Linked DNA regions of Homo sapiens: all the other regions are linked to region 1. Evidence: promoter capture Hi-C in 16 types of primary human blood cells and fetal thymus (Javierre and others, 2016). All regions are on one chromosome and are shown on one strand. Each heading gives the region's core, a stretch centred on a gene start or on the middle of the fragment in contact. The rest is flanking DNA. Distances are from core to core; before and after follow the strand shown.

The links. The method cuts DNA at HindIII sites, captures the fragments that hold promoters and counts their contacts. A CHiCAGO score of 5 or more calls a contact.
Region 2: a fragment that was not itself captured here is called in contact with the fragment with the promoter of HNRNPR in region 1 in 1 of 17 cell types (fetal thymus); the score reaches 7.7 in fetal thymus.
Region 3: a contact is called between a fragment that was not itself captured here and the fragment with the promoter of HNRNPR in region 1, in 1 of 17 cell types (fetal thymus). The highest score is 5.5, in fetal thymus.
Region 4: a contact is called between a fragment that was not itself captured here and the fragment with the promoter of HNRNPR in region 1, in 1 of 17 cell types (fetal thymus). The highest score is 5.7, in fetal thymus.

What each region holds. Positions count from the first base shown.
Region 1 is chr1:23,342,987-23,345,605 of GRCh38, forward strand. HNRNPR (heterogeneous nuclear ribonucleoprotein R) reads right to left here and starts at 1,298. Exons shown (of 11, transcript NM_005826.5): 1 at 1,225-1,298. RefSeq lists silencers at 771-840, 851-1,210, 1,721-1,840 and an enhancer at 1,231-1,815. The HindIII fragment of the contact is 3,804 bases long and covers 1-2,619 here.
Region 2 is chr1:23,773,881-23,776,499 of GRCh38, forward strand. All of the region lies in intron 1 of ELOA-AS1 (ELOA antisense RNA 1), which reads right to left. Among named protein-coding and RNA genes, the nearest start is that of ELOA-AS1, 3.1 kb to the right of the region's middle. The HindIII fragment of the contact is 2,586 bases long and covers 16-2,601 here.
Region 3 is chr1:23,753,422-23,756,040 of GRCh38, forward strand. It overlaps ELOA (elongin A), which reads left to right. Exons shown (of 11, transcript NM_003198.3): 6 at 679-834; 7 at 942-1,039; 8 at 2,422-2,602. Among named protein-coding and RNA genes, the nearest start is that of ELOA, 11 kb to the left of the region's middle. The HindIII fragment of the contact is 9,647 bases long and covers 1-2,619 here.
Region 4 is chr1:23,698,629-23,701,247 of GRCh38, forward strand. No RefSeq gene overlaps it. Among named protein-coding and RNA genes, the nearest start is that of RPL11, 8.1 kb to the left of the region's middle. The HindIII fragment of the contact is 359 bases long and covers 1,141-1,499 here.

The DNA.
Region 1 (2,619 bases), core at 48-2,547:
GAAAATAAAACCTTCGGATCAAGGAAAGCCCTCTCTCTTCAAGCCAAATACAAAATGCTCATTTTGAAAAGACTTTTTATGTCATATGAGACCATTTGAAACTCATTCAAATGTGGCATTCAACACAATGCCACACAGCCAAACCATATTTCTGGATGCAGCAAATATACTAACGTGACTGGAGTCATTTGATCTAAACATTTTTGCAAAAAAAAAGGAGACATTTAAAGATTTAAAAGGGCTGCTGGGAGATTCGGGATGTCAGCACTAACTCCTCCCTGACTTTTTCTGAACCTCTCTGTGCAAATTCTTCATATTAAGAGACGGGCTTTAAAAGAACCAACGAAATGAGACTAACGGTTATCTCATGGCTTAGGAGTGTCGAGCTCTCATCCTACGACTGACTCATGAGACATCAATTCAGCCACTTGAGGACTGCAAAAATCTCAAACAGGTAGTGTGAAAGGACTGAACCTTCCAAGAAGCCCTGGGCTTTTTTAAAAATTTGGCAATACGGCCACTACCGTGTAAGAAAAAGGATCGCCTTTCCAATTTGGTGCGCCTCTGACAGTCTCAGAATTATCCATTTCAGGCGCCGCTTGGAGCCTAAGTTCTACGGCCTCTAGTAGTCATTTTTTCCTTCAAATCTCAGCCCGCGGCATGCAGAATGTGGGAGGGGAGGGAGGCTTCCCACACAAATCGGCCTTTCGGTTTCTGCTCACACAAAACTTTTCTCCCGGCTCAGATAACCCTGGGATCTGCACCCCGCCTTCCGCCCCCCACCCCCATCCCCTCAGGCCCGTCCGGATCATCAGCACATCCCTCTCGGGCTAGGCCGGCCGCGGCGGGAGCGAAGCGGCTCCGGCGGGGAGAAGCGGCAGGGCCGCGGGCGCCTCAGGCCCTTCGCGGGATCCGGCCGCATGGAGCAGCGAGCGGAGGCGGGAAAAGCACGGCCGGCCCCAGCAGGCCGCGCGGAGAGCGCCCAGCGGGCCGGACCGCGGGCTAAAGGGGCGGGGGGAGGAAGAGCGAGGGCGAGAAGCGTTTCGGCCGGGCTAGGCCCACAGCCGCGCGGGCGGACTAGACCGAAGCCGCCCCCAGCCCGTCCCCACCCCCACCCCGGGGCCTCGGAGCGCAAACGAAACGGGACCAGGCACGGAGCCCGGGCTGAGTCGGGTCGCATCGGGGCTCCCGGCCCCTCCCCCCACGGGCCGGCGCGAGACTCACCAGGGCAGAGCGGGGGCCGGCAGCCGGGCCCGTGAGAATCAGCGCGAGGCGCTTTGAAAACGACTAGAAATGGCGCGCGCGCCACCCCCTCCCCCCCCTGATGGACTGAGACGCGATCCCGGCAGCACGCGGGGTTTCCCGGAACTGCTTCCAGGGACTCCGAGCTACGGGGCAATCGCTTGGCGAGGCGGCCTGACAGGCAGCTCAGACGACCAGTAGTATCCAGGCAAAACGGACCACGCCGGACGACTCGAGAGCCAATCGATGAAGCTGCCGGCTGAACCAATGAGGGTGCTCAGCGCCCCTGGCTGGGGCGCCTCCGGGGCGGGGGCAGGCACACAAAGGGGTCTGTGGTGGAAGCCCTTGGTGGCTGCAAGGCTTGGGGGCGCTGGGTCCTGGGTGGACGAAGCTCCTCCCTCTTCGTCTGCCGCCGATGCGAGGCCGAAAATCTAGGCCTCGCGCCGCGTGGCCGCCTCCGGAGCCCCGCCCCCTATGGTCAGCACTGGCCCAGCTCCGCCATGGCGCTTGCGTCCCGCCACCGGCCGCCCTTAGCCCCCGAGTCCTCCCTCGCACCCCCGCGGCCGGCGTTCCCCCCAGACACGCCCATAGCCACGCGTTCGGGCCTCTTTCGGTCATCTTTTCGCCTCTAGTGAGCACACGATTTAAGGATGATTTGGCTCGTCATTTTGCTGAGGATTTTGTCTAGATAATCATTCCTTGGAACGATCGGAGAAATGCCTCTTTCCCTCCCTGGCTGCCGTCCACACATCGTTGGTGGCAGACTGTGAGGGAAATCGTTAAAATGACTCAAAAGCAATGTGTAACACAAGTGATAGAGCAGGGAGCTTTTCCCCACAGGGTTTGGAGCTACTTGATATTCATAAAATAAAGCAGCTATATACATCTCTGAAGCCAAAAGAGCCATGCAGGGGAAAGGGGTAATTCCCAAAGGACACTATAATTCGTGTTAGTCCTAAACCTATTTCTCACCTGCCATTCCTACTGATTTGTTCCCTGTCCTTAGTCCAAACCTGTCTCGTCTCATAGAAACCTTCCGAACTCACTTCTGTGGTGCAAGCGCTTTTTTCCCAACCCCAAACTCCAATGCCCCACCCTTAGGAAGTGGAGGAAGTCAAGCAGTGGTCTGCAGATTTCCAGATGCACTCAAGGATGATTAAATTTCTCAGAACCTACAAACCTATATTTAATTATTGAAAACGGGCGGGGCGTGGTAGCTCATGCCTGTAATCCCAGCACTTTGGGAGGCCGAGGCGGGTGTATCGGTCAGAAGTTCGAGACCAGCCTGATCAACATGGTGAAACCCTGCCTCTACTAAAAATACAAAAATTAGCCCGGTGTGGTGGCACGTGCCTGTAAACCCACCTACTCCGGAGG
Region 2 (2,619 bases), core at 59-2,558, 430 kb after region 1:
AGAGAAGATCTTAAAAGCTTCCAGAAAACGGGGTGGGGTGGGGGGAAAACCCATAAAAAGAATCAGGATTCAGAACAGCATTGTATTTATCAAAGCCAGAAGAAAACCAGAGCAATTTCTTCACAATTATGAAAGAATTCTATCCACAGCCAAACTACTAATTAAGTACAGTAGAATAAAGCCATTTTCAGTGCCACTTAACATGTATGGCAGCATGGTAGCCAGCCACTAAGGTGGCCTCTAATGATTTCTACCTCCTGGTATCTGCACTCTTATGAAGTTCCCGCACACACTGAATATGGCTGACCTGTGAAACCATGGGATGTTGCAAAATTGACAATATGGGACTTCTGTGGCTAGGTCATAAAAGACATTGGTGGTTTCTACCTTGCCCTTAGATCACTTGTTCTGCTGAAAACCAGCTGCTGTATCATGAGGACACTCAAACAGTACTATTGAGAGGTCCATGTGTTAAGGAACTGGGGCCTCCTGCCAAGAGCCTGCACAAACTTGCCAGCCGGGGCTTCTCCAGCCCTGGCCAAGCCTTCATATGATTTCAGGCTCATGAGAGACCCCAAGCCAGAACCACCCAGCTAGGACGCTCTCAAATTCCTAACTCACAGAAACTGTGAGATGATAAATGTTAATTGTTGTTTTGAGGAGAGAGGCCATTTCTCTTACTGTCTCTGAAGAGAAGGAAGAAGTAAAAGCTGAAAAACAACAGGAATGAAGTCAGTGGCAAGACCAACTGATGCCACTTACCAGGCCTGAGGTTAAAGATTAACGCCCCCACCCTAACCACATGTGTTACCTATAGATCACTTGCTCAATCTATCACAACCCTTTCACGTGGACCCCCTTAGAGTTATAAGCCCTTAAAAGGGCCAGGAACTTTTTCTTTGGAGAGCTTGGTTCTTGAGACACAACTCTGCCAACGCTCCTGGCCGAATAAAGTCTCTTCCTTCTTTAACCTGGTGTCTGACAGGTTTTATCTGCAGCTTGTCCTGCTACAGTTTTAAGCCATTAAGTTTGGGAATAATTTGTTACACAACAAAAGACAACTAATACAGACCTACTGGGAGGGGAGGAGCCACAGTATTTTGCAGTTCTTCCAATCAGGAGGTGAAGTCTACAGTCTAGCTCTCCACTCTAGAATTTGGATTTGGCTGATGGGTCATTATAGAAAGATTATAGATGTAAGGCTTAAAAAGTGCTTGTGCTGGCAGGGCGCAGTGGCTCATGCCTGTAATCCTAGCACTTTGGGAGGCCGAGGTGGGCAGATCACCTGAGGTCAGAAGTTTGAGACCAGCCTGCCCAACATGGTGAAACCCCATCTCTACTAAAAATACAAAAATTAGCCAGGCGTGGTGGCAGGCGCCTGTAATCCCAGCTACTCGGAAGGCTGAGGCAGGAGAATCGCTTGAACCCGGGAGGGGGAGGTTGCAGTGAGCGGAGATTGTGCCACTGCACTCCAGCTTAGGTGACAGAGCAAGACTCCATCTCAAAAAAAAAAAAAAAAAAAAAAGTGCTTGTGCAATTGAGTCTTGCCCTCTCTTGCTCCTGGGAACTCTGCAATTATCACCATGTAATTTAGCTAGGCTTGTCTGCTGGAGACACGTGGTCCCATCATCCCAGCTAACAGCCAGCATCAAGCAGACGAGAGTGAGACCATCCCAAACTTTCCAGCCCAAGCTGAACTGGCCCAGAAAAGCTAATCCACAGGATCATGCGAATTAATCAATGTTTGTTGTTTAAAGCTATCAAAGTTTTAGGGTAATCTGTTACACAGCATAAGCTAATTGATACAGCATATTTACTTTGTGTGCACCTCCCGCCTCAACCTCCCCACCCTAACCAGGAAACTACTGATGTGTTACAAGAACACTACAGGATGTGTTCAAAGCCTGGTTACCTCCTAACTTTACCTAGTCTCAGACAAGTTAGTTTGCCTCTTTCAGCCTCAGTTTTCCTCATCTTCAAATTGGAGATAACAGTAGGTAATAGCACCTAGCTCTCTTTTTTTTTTTTTTGAGATGGAGTCTCGCTCTGTCGCTCAGGCTGGAGTGCAGTGGCACAATCTCGGCTCACTGCAACCTCTGCCTCCTGGGTTCAAGCGATTCTCCTGCCTCAGCCTCCCGAGTAGCTGGGATTACAGGCACACGCTACGATGCCTGGCTAATTTTTCTATTTTTAGTAGAGACGGGGTTTCACCATGCTGGCCAGGCTGGTCTCAAACTCCTGACCTCAAGTGATCTACCCGCCTCGGCCTCCCAAAGTGTTACAGGTGTGAGCCACCACACCTGGCTGTACCTAGCTCTTAAAGTTCATGTGACAATTAATTGAGATGAACTACATAATGTGCTTAGCACACAGTGCTCAAATAAATCATTAATGAAGGCAACAGGAAAAAGCCAAAATGAGTAGATCTCCGGGGTAAGGCCTGAGTTGGTTCTTCAAAAGGACACTCTTACCAAAGAAAGGCTACCAAGTATATCAGTCAAGTAAACATTTACTGTTTGCCACATTCCAGGTCCCTTACCTGAAACTGTGACCTAAAAGCAGGAATAATTCACGGCACTGAGCTATTTTGAAACAGAACCAAGCTTGCTTATTGCACAA
Region 3 (2,619 bases), core at 48-2,547, 410 kb after region 1:
TTGCTGCTGCTGTTATTAGCAGCCCTTTATCCTATGTGTTACATAGGATTTTTGTCTGAAAGAAAAAAATGTCTAATTTTCATAGCAAAAGAAGTAGAAGCCACATAAGGGTCTATCAGCAGGAGACTAACAGATAAATCATGGTTCATCTACACAGTGGCATCCTATGCCACAGTAAAAAAAAAATGTGGAAAGTCTATGCACTGACATGGAATGATCTCTCAGATGTGGCAAATGAAAAAAAGCAATGTATGTAGTGAGTATGTTATTAATTGATTCATTGGCTTAAAAGGAATAAGATACATTTGCTTTTTTTTGTTGTTGCTGTTGAGAGTCTTGCTGTGTTACTCAGGCTGGAGTGCAGTAGCTCCATCTTGGCTCACTGCAGCCTCCACCTCCTAGGTTCAAGCAATTCCTCTGCCTCAGCCTCCTGAGTAGCTGGGACTACAGGTGCATGTTGGGCAGGCTGATCTCGAACTCTTGACCTCAGATGATTCATGTGCCTTGGCCTCCTAAAGTGCTGGGATTACAGGAGCTTATTTTTAAATTCTCTGGAAGGATCTACAAAAATCTGTAGCGTGGATTGCCATTGGGAAAGGGAAGTAGGAGGCTGAAGGGGGTAGAAGGAGAGTTTTCACTGGATCACTTAGGGCCTTTTGTGTTTTTCTTGCCCTATAGCGTTCTCTTCACCCCAGGAAGAAGAAGAAGCTGGATTTACTGGGCGCAGAATGAATTCCAAGATGCAGGTGTATTCTGGTTCCAAGTGTGCCTATCTCCCTAAAATGATGACCTTGCACCAGCAATGCATCCGAGTACTTAAAAACAACATCGATTGTAAGTCACACGCTTCTCTCTAGCTCTCAAGCACATTGTAGCACTTGGACCTTATCACTGGGTGGCTTGGCTGCTACTCAGTGTCTTCACCTTTGGTTTCTCTGCAGCAATCTTTGAAGTGGGAGGAGTCCCATACTCTGTTCTTGAACCCGTTTTGGAGAGGTGTACACCTGATCAGCTGTATCGCATAGAGGAATACAATCATGTGAGTATTCTGTTTGGGTGGGAAGAGGGCAGTTTTCTGGCTTGTACCTCCAGAAATAGCTTTGTCCCTGTGACTCCGCTGTGGCTGAAGGGCAGATCAGTGGTCAGAGCATTGTTCTGGATATATTTGGTTTGCCACTGGGCCTTTAAACAAGCATGTTATTAGCACTTGCTCCTGGCACCTTAAGTGGGCCTCTTGGGCTAGGATCAGGGTGGGATTCAAAGGGAGAAGAAAAACACTTAACATCTCCCTTGAGCTTGCCTAGTCATGAAGGTAAAGGGAGAATTCTGGCAGCAGAGTAGCTGGGACCCAGGGCGGGGAAAGCACTTTGTGTTGACACTCTGACATCTGGTGATTGGCTGGATGTCTCTTAAGAAACATCAAGATTTATCCAGAATCCTCCTTAGGATGTAGGGTATACACATTTGATTGCATCAGCTGTCTCTCTTTAATTCTGAAAGTTCTATGACCTAACACCTTTTTTTTTTTTTTTGGAGATAGGGTCTACCTCTGTTGCTTCGACTGCAGTACAGAGGCCTAATCATGGCTTACTGCATCCTTGAACTCCTGGGCTTAAGTGATCCTCCCAAGTAGCTGGGACTACAGGCACATACCACCACAGCTGGCTAATATTTTTATTTTTTAGAGAGATGGACTCTCAGACTCTTGGCCTCCTGAAGTGCTGGGATTACAGGCATGAGCCAACGCGCCTGGCCAATAACTTAACATCCTTCTTAGGTTGCCCCTTTGCCATCACAGTTCAGCGTAGTGTTGGGAAGTACCTGATTTGACTTGATCGCAGTTCTACCCTTTGCTGATTTTCTAAAGGAAAAGACTGATGTTACACAGATTTTTGTGATATTCTGTCACAGCCACCAAAAGCAACTAGCATAGTGCCTCACACTTCGCATTTTTAAAATTTAGGGAGTTATTTTTTTCCTAGAATTGTGGTATTTTAACATACTACTAAGATGAAGACCAAAAAATTTTTGGGAAACTGGTCACTCCTAGGTAATTAAATAATCAGAAAAAGATATGAGGCTGGGCATGGTGACACACGCCTGTAATCCCAGCACTCTGGGAGGCCAAGGTGGGCGGATTATCTGAGGTCAGGAGTTCGAGACCAGCCTGGACAACATGGCAAAACCCCATCTCTACTGAAAATATAAAATAGCTGGGCGTGGTGGTAAGCACCTGTAGTCCTGGCTACTTGAGAGGCTGAGGCGTGAGAATCGCTTGAACCCAGGAGGCAAGGGTTGCAGTGAACCAAAATTGCACCACTGCACTGCAGTCTACACGACAGAGCAAGACTCTGTCTCAAAAAAAAAAAAAAAATATGGAAAAGTGCTTGTACACAAATGATGTCCTGGTTCTGGTTTCAGGTATTAATTGAAGAAACAGATCAATTATGGAAAGTTCATTGTCACCGAGACTTTAAGGAAGAAAGACCCGAAGAGTATGAGTCGTGGCGAGAGATGTACCTGCGGCTTCAGGACGCCCGAGAGCAGCGGCTACGAGTACTAACAAAGAATATCCAGTTCGCACATGCCAATAAGCCCAAAGGTAACAGAGACGGGAGA
Region 4 (2,619 bases), core at 70-2,569, 360 kb after region 1:
CCCAGTAGCTAGACAGCTAGCCCCTATTCTGGCTAGAAGCTTGACTTGCAAACAAATGTCCTATTGGTATCTAAAGCACTGTCATTTGTGGTTGAACTTGTACCAAGTGGGTAGATAGGATCGCCTGGGAGTTTGTTAAAACTCGTGGGCCCTACCTCAGACCTACTGAATTAGAATCTAATTTAACGAGATCTGCGGGTGATTTGTACGCATACTAAAGTGTAGAGGTAGTGGCCAAAAAAAGCAGGAAGGGCATGATACCCAAGGAGGTTTCCTTAATACATTTAGTTCTTATGAAGTTCTTACTGTGTGGTTATTTTTCTCGTTTCTTCAGCTGCTACCCATGAAAGTCTGGGAGTGGACCCTGTCTCAGAAAAAAAAAATGAATAAAAAATTATACACAATAATTACAATACTGAGGCGACAGTGGGTTCTCTTTTACTATTAGAAACACCAAATAGTAAACACAGCTAAGGCTTTTTTTTCCTTTAGACATAGTTGGGAGGTGTTTTTACTTTTTCCCTTTAACAGTTGCGTTCTCAGTACATTGCAGTGGCTATACAATATTTCATTTTGGAAATGTATGGGACATAATTATGTAGCTGGCACTAAATGTCAGGAATGTCAGTTTCATTAAACTATCCAATAGAGGCTCTTTTATCCTGCTGTCTTGCCCTCTGTCCAGTGAGTACCTTTAAGGTCCTTGCAAGGTGTCTTGAGCTGTTCAATGGTGTGGTATTGTGGAAAGAATGCTAAACAGGAAAAAGATTATCCATCTTCATTTGTTTTTGAGACAGGGTCTTGCACTGTCATGTGCTGGAGTGCAGTGGTACCATCACGACTCACTTCAGCCTCAACCTCCTGGGCTCAAGTGATCCTTCTACCTCGATCTCCCGAGTAGCTGGGACTACAGTTGCATGCCAGCATGCCCAACTATTTTTTTTTTTTTTTTTTTTTTTGGTAGAGAAGGGGTCTCACTGTGTTGCCAAGGCAAGTTATCCATGTTCTGATTTTGGTTCTGCTTTCCCTGCTAGCGTTACGACCATGGGCAAGAAACCTGGCAAGTTACAGTCTGGCCCTCTAAAGTGGAGTATGTTGGATTTTTGCGTATAACCCTTTATCTTCTAAACTGTGTGCTTAAGCTTCCTTTTCTTGCAGTTTAACACTCTGGCTAGTCCTAACCTGCTAAACTCAACGCAAATGCTGAGGTGCTCCAGCCAACTGGTGGTTGAAGACCAGAATGAGTAGTCTACCAAAGGCAACTGAGTGCTACAGGGTTAAGGCCCAAGCCTTCTAGGTACTCTGGCCCAGAAACCACCCACACATAGTTTAAGCTGCCAGCCACTGGGGACCATGCTAGTGCCTGGGGATACAGAACTAGTCAGAGCTGCTTGTTATGGAAACCACAATGTGGTTGTCAGAGGGGAATCCAGCCTAAGATACCTGGAGGGCACCAGGAGAACTGAACTTGACTCTGCTTAAGGTGGCAAATGCAGGAAAGCTTAGGAAACAAGTATAAATGGTTTATTTTCACAAATCAGTGAACCAAACTGATGTGTGATGATACCAGTTGACCTTTAACGATTTTAGGAAGTTTTGTAATTACCTTTTGTCAAGATTGATACTTTTTTTTTTTTTTCCCTGAGACGGAGTCTAGTTCTGTCACCCAGGCTGGAGTGCAGTGGTGCAGTCTCAGCTCACTGCAGCCTCTGCCTCCCGGGTTCAAGCTATTCTCTTGCCTCAGCCTCCCGAGGAGCTGGGATTACAGGCGTCCGCCACCATGCCCAGCTAATTTTTGTATTTTTAGTAGAGACAGGGTTTCGCTGTGTTGGCCAGGCTGGTCTCGAACTCCTGACCTCGTGGTCCACCTGGCTCAGCCTAAGATTGATACAATTTTTTATGCAATAAGTATGTAAGTAGTTAACCTGGAATCTAAAAGGAGCTTGAAAGGCAAAGGCATTCAACAATAGGCACAAATGAAATTCTAGACCCTCTCAGTTACCCTGCTTGAACGTATGGCTTTGATAACATGACTCAACTCTGAAATGCTCTGATGATTGCCTCTGGAACACAGTGCTTTATTTTTTGCTTTAAAGATCAGTTCTGTTCAAACATGACATGGCGTATCATAGTGGCTAAGAGCACAGAGTTTGGAATTTAAGGCTGGGGGGATGAAGAGGTTGATTAATGGGTGTAGAAATATAGTTAGAGGAAATAAGACCCAGTGTTTGATAGATCAATAGGGTGACTAGTTAATGATTTGTATTTTAAAATAGAAAATAATTCTTTTTTTTTTTTTTTTTTGAGACGGAATCTTATCGCTCTGTCGCCCAGGCTGGAGTGCAGTGGTGCGATCTCGGCTCACTGCAAGCTCCGCCTCCCAGGTTCATGCCATAAAATAGAGAATAATTCTAATGTTACCAGCATAAAGAAAGATAAATGTTTAAGGTAGCAGATATCCCAGTTACCCTGATTTGATCATTACACATTGTACGAATGTATCAGAATATCACATGTACTCCAAAATATGTACATCTATTTTGTTTCAATAAAAAAAACAGGCCAGGCATAGTGGCTCATGCCTGTGATCTCAGCACTTTGGGAGGCCTAGGTGGGCAG